2 separate regions of the Homo sapiens genome follow, and region 1 is linked to region 2. Evidence: promoter capture Hi-C in human tissues and cell types (Jung and others, 2019). All regions are on one chromosome and are shown on one strand. Each heading gives the region's core, a stretch centred on a gene start or on the middle of the fragment in contact. The rest is flanking DNA. Distances are from core to core; before and after follow the strand shown.

Region 1 (4,964 bases), core at 15-2,514, 500 kb after region 2:
TCTACCCAGGGTATGGGATGGGAAGTGGTGACACATGGGCAAAGTAGCTGCCATCCTGGCTGAGAATTCAGCTGCCATAAATAGAGATTCACAGAGTGGACTGGCTCAATACTGGAGAGCCCTGGGCTTTGCTGGCCTGTATTTTTCTGGTCTCTCAGACAAATGCACAGCCTTTTCAAACTTTGACCAACTCGTATTAACTTATTCAAAACTGTGTGAAAAAGAATGAGCCACTGATACATGCAAGAATTTGGATGACTCACAGATATTATGCTGAGTGAAAGAAACCAGATACAAAAGCTTGTATGACTCCATATATACGAAGCTCAAAAACAGGCAAAACTAATCCATGGTGTTAGGAATCAGAATAATGGTTACCTCCAGGGAGGTACAGACCAGGAAGAGGACCCTTACAAGGTGCTAACAGGTTCAATAGCAGGATCCAGAGGTGTTCACATGGCTGTATACAAATTAATCAGTTTTTATACTTAAGACGATTGCCCTTTATGTATCTTATGTACTTTATTAAACATGTTATATTACAATTTAAAACAACATCTCCAGGCTGGGCATGGTGGCTCATGCCTGTAATCCTAGCACTTTGAGAGGCCGAGGTGGATGGATCACTTGAGCTCAGGAGTTCGAGACCAGCCTGGCCAACATGGTGAAACCCCAAGTCTACTTAAAAAATGCGAAAATGAGCCAAGCATGGTGGTGCACACCTGTAATCCCAGCCACTCAGGAGGCTGAGGCAGGAGAATCACTTGAACCCAGGAAGTGGAGGTTGCAGTGAGCCGAGATCATGCCACTGCACTCCAGCCGGGGCGACATAGCAAGACTCCATCTCAAAAATAAGTAAATAAGTAAATAAATAAATAAATAAATAAATAACATCTCTAGCTGGGCATGGCAGCTCATGCCTGTAATCTCAGCACTTTGGGAAACCAAGGTGGGAGGATTGCTTGAGGCCACAGTTCAACACCATCCTGGGCAACATAGTGAGATCTCTTCTCTAGAAAAAAATTTAAAAATTAGCCAGGCATGGTGGTGCAAGCCTGTAGTCTGGGCTACTTGGGAAGCTGAGGTGGAAAAATTGCTTGGGCCCAGGAGTTCAAAGCTACAGTGAGCTATGATGACGCCAATGCACTCCAGCCTGGGCAACAGAGGGAGACCCTGTCTCAAAAAAGAAACGAACAACAACAACAAAAATACACACACAAAGTATCTCTAATAAGAGCAGCAACAGAAGAATAGTTTTTATTTGCAAAGTGCCTTTGCACACAAAAATCCCATCTTATCTCCATCATCCCTCTAAGCCCCATGAAGTAAGCATTACTATCCACCTCCATTTTACAGTTGAGGAAACTGAGGCCCAAAGAAGTAGGAATTGACTAAAGTCACATGGTTAAAGATACCCAGCCATATATTTGTAACCTTCTTTGAAAACATTAATTATGAAATGAGGCCGGGCACGGTGGCTCACGCCTGTAATCCCAGCACTTTGGGAGGCCGAGATGGGCGGATCACCTGACGACAGGAGTTTGAGACCAGCCTCAACATGGAGAAACCCCATCTCTACTAAAAATACAAAATTAGCCAGGCGTGGTGGTGCATGCCTGTAATCCCAGCTACTCGGGAGGCTGAGGCAGGAGAATTGCTTGAACCTGGGAGGCGGAGGTTGCGGTGAGCCGAGATCACACCATCACACTCCAGTCTGGGCAACAAGAGTGAAACTCTGTCCCAAAAAATCAAAAAAATTATGAAATAAAACCTTAATTATGAAACTTGGTCTCACATAATTATACCAAATTAAATACAGAGGACTTCGCTGATTTTTAGTTGTAAAAAAGAGTTCATCCAACATTCTCTCCTGATTAAACAAAAAACAAACAAACAAAAAAACAAAACCTGAAACACTCAGCCAACTAGGAAGAGGAGAGAACTTCTCAACCTGGTAAAAGGCATCTGTGCAAAACCCACAGCTAACATCACACTTAATGGTGAAGACAAAGGCCGAAAGCTTTCCCCCTAAGATCAGGAATAAGATAAGGATGCCTACTCTCATCACTTCCAATCAACATTGTACTGAAAGTTCTTGCCAGGGCAATTAAGCAAGAAAAATAAATAAAAGGCATCCAGATTGGAAAAGCAGAGGTAAAACTATTTCTATTTGTAGATGACATGATCTCATATAGAGAAAAACCTAAAGAATACACAGAAAGCTATTAGAACTAAAATGAGTTCAGCAAAGTTCAACAATATCAACACACAAAAATCAGTTGTATTTCTGTACATTAGCAACGAGCAATATGAAAATGATATTAAGAATCATTTCCATTTACAATAGCATCAAAAATAATAAAACATTTAGCAATAAATTTAACCACGGAAAGGAAAGGCTTGTCCTCTGAAAAGTACCAAACCTTGTTGAAAGAAATCAAGGAAGACATAAATAAATGGAAACACATTCCATGTCCATGGATTAGAAGACTTAATTGTTAAGACAGCAACACTCTCCAAATTGCTCAACAGATTCAATACAAGTCTTTCAAAATCTGAGCTGCATTTTTTGCAGAAATGGACAAGTTTATCCCACACCTCATATGGAATCGCAAGAGACCCTGAATAGTCAAAACAATATTCAAAAAGAAAAATAAAGTTGAAAGATTCGCATGTCCTGATTTCAAAACTTACTGCAAAGCTACAATAAAGAAGTTTATCGATCAATTGAATAGAGTCAAGAGTACAAAAATAAACCTATACATCTATAGTCAATTGATTTTCAACAAGTGTGCTAAGACCATTAAATGGGGGAAGCATAGTCTTTTCAACAAATGGTGCTAAGACAGCTGGGTATCCAAATGCAAAGGAATGAGGCCAGGCCCTGTGGCTCATGCCTGTAATCCCAGCACGTTGGGAGGCCAAGGCAGGAGGATCGCAGGAGCCCAGGAGTTCAAGACCAGCCTAGGTAACATAGTGACACCCCAGCTATACAAAATAATAATAATAATAAATAAAATTAGCCGGGCATGGTGGTGTGTGCCTGTAGTCTCAGTTACTCAGGAGGCTAAGGTGGAAGGATCACTTGAGCCCAGGAGTTCGAGGCTGCAGTGAGCTGTGATTTCATCACTCTACTCCAGCCTGGGTGACAAAGTGAGACCCTGTCACCCAGGCTGACCCTATATGAAATGTCCAAAATAGTCAAATCCATAGAGATAGAAAGCAGATTAGTGGTTGCCAGGGTCCAGAGAGGGGGAAAAAGGAGAATGACTGCTTAATGGGTACAGGGTTTCTTTTTGGGATGACGAAAATGTTATGTAACTAGATTGTGGCGATGGTTACACAATATTGTGAATGTAATAAAAAAGAGCTGCATTGTATACTTTAGTTAAAATGGTGAGGTTTTTTTTTTTTTTTTTTTGGTAGATGGAGTCTCACTCTGTTGCCCAGGCTGGAGTGGAGTGGTGCAATCTTGGCTCACTGCAACCTCTGCCTCCCAGGTTCAAGCAATTATCCTGCCTCAGCCTCCTGAGTAGCTGAGATTACAGGTATTGCCACCACACCTGGCTAATTTTTTGCATTTTTAGTAGAGATGGGGTTTCCCTATGTTGGCCAGGGTGGTCTCAAACTCCTGACCTCAGGTGATCCGCCCGCCTCAGCATCCCAAAGTCCTGGGATTACAGGCATCAGCCACCGCACCCGACCAAAATGGTGAATTTTATGTCATGTGAATTTTATCTCAATTTTTATTTTTATTGTTTGAGACAAAGAGTCTCGCTTTGTTGCCCAGGCTGGAGTGCAGTGGCACAATCTCGGCTCACAGCAACCTCTACCACCCAGTTTCAAGTGCCCACCACTACACCTGGCTAATTTTTGTATTTTCAGTGGAGACAGGGTTTCCCCATTTTGGCCAGGCTGGTCTCGAACTCCTGACCTCAGGAGATCCGCCTACCTTGGCCTCCCAAAGTTTTGGATTACAGGCTACAAACACCACGCCCGGCCTTATCTCAATTTTTTTTTTTTTTTTTTTTTGAGACAGAGTTTCACTCTTGTTGCCCAGGCTGGAGTGCAATGGCACGATCTCGGCTCACTGCAACCTCCGCCTCCCGGGTCCCGGTTCAAGCAGTTCTCCTGCCTCAGCCTCCTGAGTAGCTGAGATTACAGGCATGCGCCACCACGCCCAGCTAATTTTTGTATTTTTAGTACAGACAGGTTTCACCATGTTGGCCAGGCTGGTCTCAAACTCCTGACCTCATGATCTGCCCACCTCAACCTCCCAAAGTGCTGGGATTACAGGCGTGAGCCACTGCGCCCGGCCCCTTATCTCAATTTTTAAAAGTGCGTTGAAGTAATGAAGAGGGAACATGTTTTGGTGCCTACCACACAGACCTAGATTAGAATTGGGGCTCTGCCATTCAGCCATGTGCTTTACCTGCCTTGGTTTTCCTGTCTGTGAAACAGAAATAACACTATATTCCTCACCAGGCCATTCTGATGATTCAGTGACAACACAGACAAAGGCCTTAGCACAGAGTATGTATTCAACAGATATTTATGAAATAATAACAACAGGAATAATAATCATTAACATCCACGGAGCTCTCACTCTGACAGCTTACATAGAATATCTCATTTATTTACTTATTTTTATTTTATTTTATTTTTTGAGACAGGGTCTCACTCTGTCACCCAGGCTGGAGTGCAGTGGCACGATCATGGCTCACTGCAACCTCTGCCTCCCAGGCTCAAGCGATCCTCCCACCTCAGCCTCCCGAGTAGCTGTGACCACAGGTGTGTGCCACCACACCCAGCTAATTTTTGTATCTTTTGTAGAGACAGGGTCTCCCTATGTTGCCCAAGCTGGTCCTAAACCGCTGGACTCAACTGATTCTCCCCCCTTGGCCTCTCAAAGTGCTGGGATTACAGGTGTCAGCCATCACGCCCAGCCAGATTATCTCATTTAA
Region 2 (4,787 bases), core at 65-2,564:
GCGTGCCTGTAATCCAAGCCACTCGGGAGGCTGAGGCAGGAGAATTGCTTGAACCCGGGAGGTGGAGGTTGCAGCGAGCCTAGATGGTGCCACTGCACTCCAGTGTGGGCGACAGAGTGAGACTCCATAAAAAAAAAAAAAAATTCAGGGGAAAAAAAGCAATTAAAAAAACATAACTATAAAAATAATACAAATTACAAAACAACCATTTGCATAGCATTTACATTATATTAGTTATAAGTAATCTAGAGATGATTAAAGTGTACGGAGGAATGTGCATAGGTTATATGCCAATACTGCCTCATTTTATATGAGGGACTTGAACATAGAAGGGTTTTGGAGTCCACAGAGGTCCTGAAACCAATTTCCCCTTCCCATGCCTGGGATGACTGAATTATACAGCAGCAAAAATGAATATACTCAAGCTATATGCATGAGTCTCATAAATATAATGCTCACAGAAAAAAGCAAGTTGCAGAAGGGTAAATACGGTTGATATATAAAGGTGCTAAACACAGAACTATTTAATGATATACGGATGCAGTAAAAGTATAAGAAATGTATGCAAACTTACTTAAATTCAGGGTGTTGGTTACTTGGAGTAAGGCGAATGTTTGGGATGTCAGTAGGTACCTGACAAATGGCAACTTAACTTTGTTTTGGTTTTTTTGAGATAGGGTCTTGCCCTTTCGCCCAGGCTCAAGTGCTGTGGTGGGATGATAGCTCACTGCAGCCTCGATCTCCAGGCTCAAAAGATCCTCCCTCCCGCCTCCGCGTCCCAAGTAGCTGGGACCACAAGCGCGCGCCACCACGCCCGGCTAATTTTTAATTTTTTTTTGTAGAGTTCAGGTCTCACTGTGTTGCCCAGGATGGTCTTGAACTCCTGGGCTCAAGCGATCCTCCCGCCTTGGCCTCCCAAAGTGCTGGGATTACAGGTGTGAGCCACCGCGCCTGGCCTGCAACTTTACTTATAATAATCTGTGTGGCAGATGTCATTTGGCCCATTTTACAGATGAGGAAATTGAGGCACAGGGAAGTGAACTGGCGGAATTTCAGTTCCGCTGGGTTTTGACACTGAATCAACTGGCTGAACCAGCGAGAGGACGGCCCGGCTGGCTCTCAGGCCTCTCCCGGCGCTCCCTTCCGGACCGGTGAGTGAGACTCCTGGGGCCACGCCTTGTGAAATTCTGAGGCTTCTTTTCAGGGATCGAAATCCCCTCCGGCTCCGCCCTGCGCGTTGGGCCCCGCCCCAGCGGGTCATGAATATGCAAGTGCGAGGAAGATATTTAAAGGCGTCGGCGCCACGCGCATATCCCTGCTCGGCGCTGCCCGCCCAGTTCCTGTTCCCAGACTGAGGCCCAGCCCCCTTCGCCCGTTTCCATCACGAGTGCCGCCAGCATGTCTGACAAACTGCCCTACAAAGTCGGTGAGTCCCAGGACCTGCAGCCGGTTGCGGCCGCCCGGCACCCGCCCGGGGCTTGTTCGTGGCGGGGGCTGCAGGGCCGACTCGGGGCTCTCTGGACCCCCTGGAATCGCAGCCTCGGCGCGTTTCTGGCCGCGCGAAGCCAGCTGGAAGTTGGAGTTCTCGCGCGGCCATGAGCGGGCCGTTCCGGGTGGCCGTGGACTACAAGTCCCAGCATGCCCCGCGACGCCGGGGCCGCCGCGCGGTCTGCGAGCCGCAAACTGGCGGCGTGCTCCGCGGGAGAGCACACCTGGCCACGGCCTGGGACGGCTGGCACCTGCCGGACCCTGCTCGGGGGGCCTGCGCCCGGCCTCCTAGGCCTGGACCGGACCCTGTCCAGCTGGGCGGCCCCGACGAGCGTCCACCCCTCTCTGGGCCTCCTACAGGGACGGCGAGGGCACCCCGGAGGGTGTATGAGGAGAGGCCTGGAAAGCGAGCCCCAGGCCGGCTCCGATCCTCCTCTCCCCTGGGACTTTGGGCCAGTTACCCAACCTGTGGGGTCCCCCACCCCTCCAGCAGGGGCAGCCTTGCAGAAATCTCGAAGAAAATTTGGAGTGGTTTGAAAAATCCTGCTGTCCCACCGATTGAAGTGTAATACAGGGATAGTTAACGTTTACTTAGTGTTTCCTGTGGGATCGGCACTGCCTTCTAGCTTTATTCTAGTCTCATGGCTCTATAGGGAAACTGTTCTCATTTTATGATGAGAATCCTGAGGCAGAGGTAACTTGCCCTCAGTCTTACAGCTGGTGGTGATGGAGCAAGATTGGAACGCAGGCCATCTAGATCTCTGAGCGCACCCTTTCACCACTGTGTGCAAGCGAATACACGCGGAACAATCCTAGTGAATTTTCAGCAAAAACCAGTTCAGTTTGGCTGGTAGCTTTTCAAGTAACTTTGACACTATTGGACCGGGTGTGGTGGCTCACCCCTGTAGTCCCAGCACTTTGAGAGGCCGAGGTGGGCGAATCACTTGAGGTCAAGAGTTCGAGACCAGCCTGGCCAACGTGGTGAAACGCTATCTCTACCAAAAATACAAAAACTAGCTGGGCGTGGTGGCGGGCGCCTTCATTCCCAGCTACTCGGGAGGCTGAGGCAGGAGGACTGTTTGAGCCGGGGAGACGGAGGTTGCAGTGAGCCGAGATTGCACCACCACGCTCCAACCTGGGCAACAGAGCAAGACCCTGTCTCAAAAAAAAAAAACAAACAAAAAAAGACACTATTAAGTCTGGAGAATGCCATCCACATTTATGGAAACACTTGCTGTATATCTGGTGATTTACGTGTGTTTACACAATAATCTTCATAGAGGTGGACGTAATCCCGTTATATAGAGCATGAAACTGAGGCCCTTGGGAGGTGACTTGCAAAGATTCTGTTGAAGTAGTTCATCAAGTTGCTACCAGAGTAGACTGTCTCCATTGTGTGGATGCTGAAACTGAACCCAGAAAGGTTATGTGAAGGTCACATCAATAGTAGAGCTGGAATGGGGGCTTGTCATACTGTGGAGAGATTAGTGGGTCAGGATTGGGGCCATTGGGTTGTGTGGGTGGAGATAAAGCTGGATTTGGGGATGGGGAGCTTAGCTGGGTGGGGCTGGAGGAAGGAGGCCCTGCTGTATGCCAGATCTTGATCATATGGCATTATCTTTACTTAAGGCGCATAGCAAGCTAGGGATGATTATCCACACTTTACAGATGAAGAAACTGATGTTTACAGGGGCTCTTGCTGTTCCTCTTGGCTTGTCCTGGGGACAGGTGTTCCTGTGACTTTTGCAAGTCCTTAGCTCCAGAGATTGCAGCATCTAGCCTCTCCTGTGCCTTTGGAGTTGAGGGTCCCAGGGAAAACTGTGGGGCTGGCACAGTGTCCTCGAGGGCACTGAAGGAGTTATTTTTAGCTGGAGGGACATGTGGTGGTGGAGGGGTGGAGCTTAGCAGCACAGGGCATAACCCATTGTCCCATACAGCCGGGCCCCTCCCAGGAGGGGCCTTGAGAGGGGCCTCTGCTCTAGCCCTGCCTGGCTGCCAGTTCTGGTTCTGCGGTTAATTGGCTATGGAACCTGCAGCAAACTCCTCTCTGGGTCCTCTCTGGGTCATTAGTAAATGCTGGGACTCAGACTAGGTTCAGATTTGTGTTGTTTTTCTTTGCCACCCTTGTCACGTGCCAGCCCCTCTCATGGATCTTTCATTCAGTTCTGAGGACAGATATGGTCGGTAAACAGTTGCTGACCCCTTCTCTGAGCCAGGTCATGCTGGAGACACAAAGGTGACCCAGAGACAGGGGTGGCACAGACATGCATACAGATAAAGTAGTATTGTCTCCATTTTATGTGAGCAGATCTGCCACTTGTCTGTCTCCACGGTCACCACCCCAGTCTGGTCTCTCTCCTTGCAGGTCTCCCTGGATCTCTTGCTCCGCAGATCCACACAGCAGCCAATGGGGTCTTTTCAAAAGACAAATCTGGTCTCTGAATGCTGGCCCCTGAAAACTGTAGGTTCCCCACTTCACTGGGACTGAAGTCCCAACTCATCTTATGCCTCTATTTGAGTCACCCTGGTGCACTCTTGGTTCCTCTAGCAGGGATATACTAGGTTCTTTCCTGTTTCCAGGTTTTTTTCAGCACCTACTGTGTGCCAGGTACTGTATTAGGTGCTTGAGAGGAGCCTTCCAGGCCGAGAACTGCTTGGGTTAAAGCCCTGAGGTGGAAATGAGTGGAGCTTGCCTGAAGTCAGTCAGGAAGCCTGTGTGTTGAACAGCTAGTGAGTGGGGAAAGTGGAGAGATGGAGGAGGGGCAGGCAGTCATGCAGATAGGGCCCGAAGATTGAGGGAAGCCATTGGAGGGTTTGCTTGTTTAGTTTTGTTTACTTTAGTAGAATGATGGAGGTGATGTAACTTAAATTTTTAAGAGCCTCCCTCTTCTGGCTGCTGTGGGGAGAATGGCATGTTAGAGCATGGGACCAGTGAAGAGAGTGTGGCAGTGTCCAACTGAGAAGTGGCAGTGTATTTATTTCTTTATTGTTTTTTTTGGAGACAGAGTCTCCCTCTCACCCAGGTTGGAGTGCAGTGGTGCTATTTTAGCTCACTGCCACCTCCGCCTCCCAGGTTCAAGCAATTCTCCTGCCTCAGCCTCCTGAGTAGGTGGGATTATAAGTGCCCACCACCACGCCCAACTAATTTTTGTATTTTTAGTAGAGATGGGATTTCACCATGTTGGCCAGGCTGCTCTCGAACTTCTGACCTCGGGTGATCCGCCCACCTTGGCCTCCCAAAGTGCTGGGATTACAGGCTGTGAGCCACCGCGCCCAGCCTGAGAAGTGACAGTTTAGAT

The links. Contacts are between HindIII fragments. The study calls those that stand out against the background at their distance.
Region 1: a contact is called between a fragment that was not itself captured here and the fragment with the promoter of AHCY in region 2, in 1 of the 25 tissues and cell types used here (dorsolateral prefrontal cortex).

Annotation. Positions count from the first base shown.
Region 1 is chr20:33,799,329-33,804,292 of GRCh38, reverse strand. All of the region lies in intron 1 of ZNF341-AS1 (ZNF341 antisense RNA 1), which reads left to right. Among named protein-coding and RNA genes, the nearest start is that of ZNF341-AS1, 9.3 kb to the left of the region's middle. The HindIII fragment of the contact is 4,512 bases long and covers 1-3,520 here.
Region 2 is chr20:34,299,882-34,304,668 of GRCh38, reverse strand. AHCY (adenosylhomocysteinase) reads left to right here and starts at 1,314. Exons shown (of 10, transcript NM_000687.4): 1 at 1,314-1,426. The coding sequence starts at 1,399. RefSeq lists enhancers at 950-1,069, 1,090-1,139 and a silencer at 1,710-1,939. The HindIII fragment of the contact is 38,207 bases long and covers 1-4,787 here.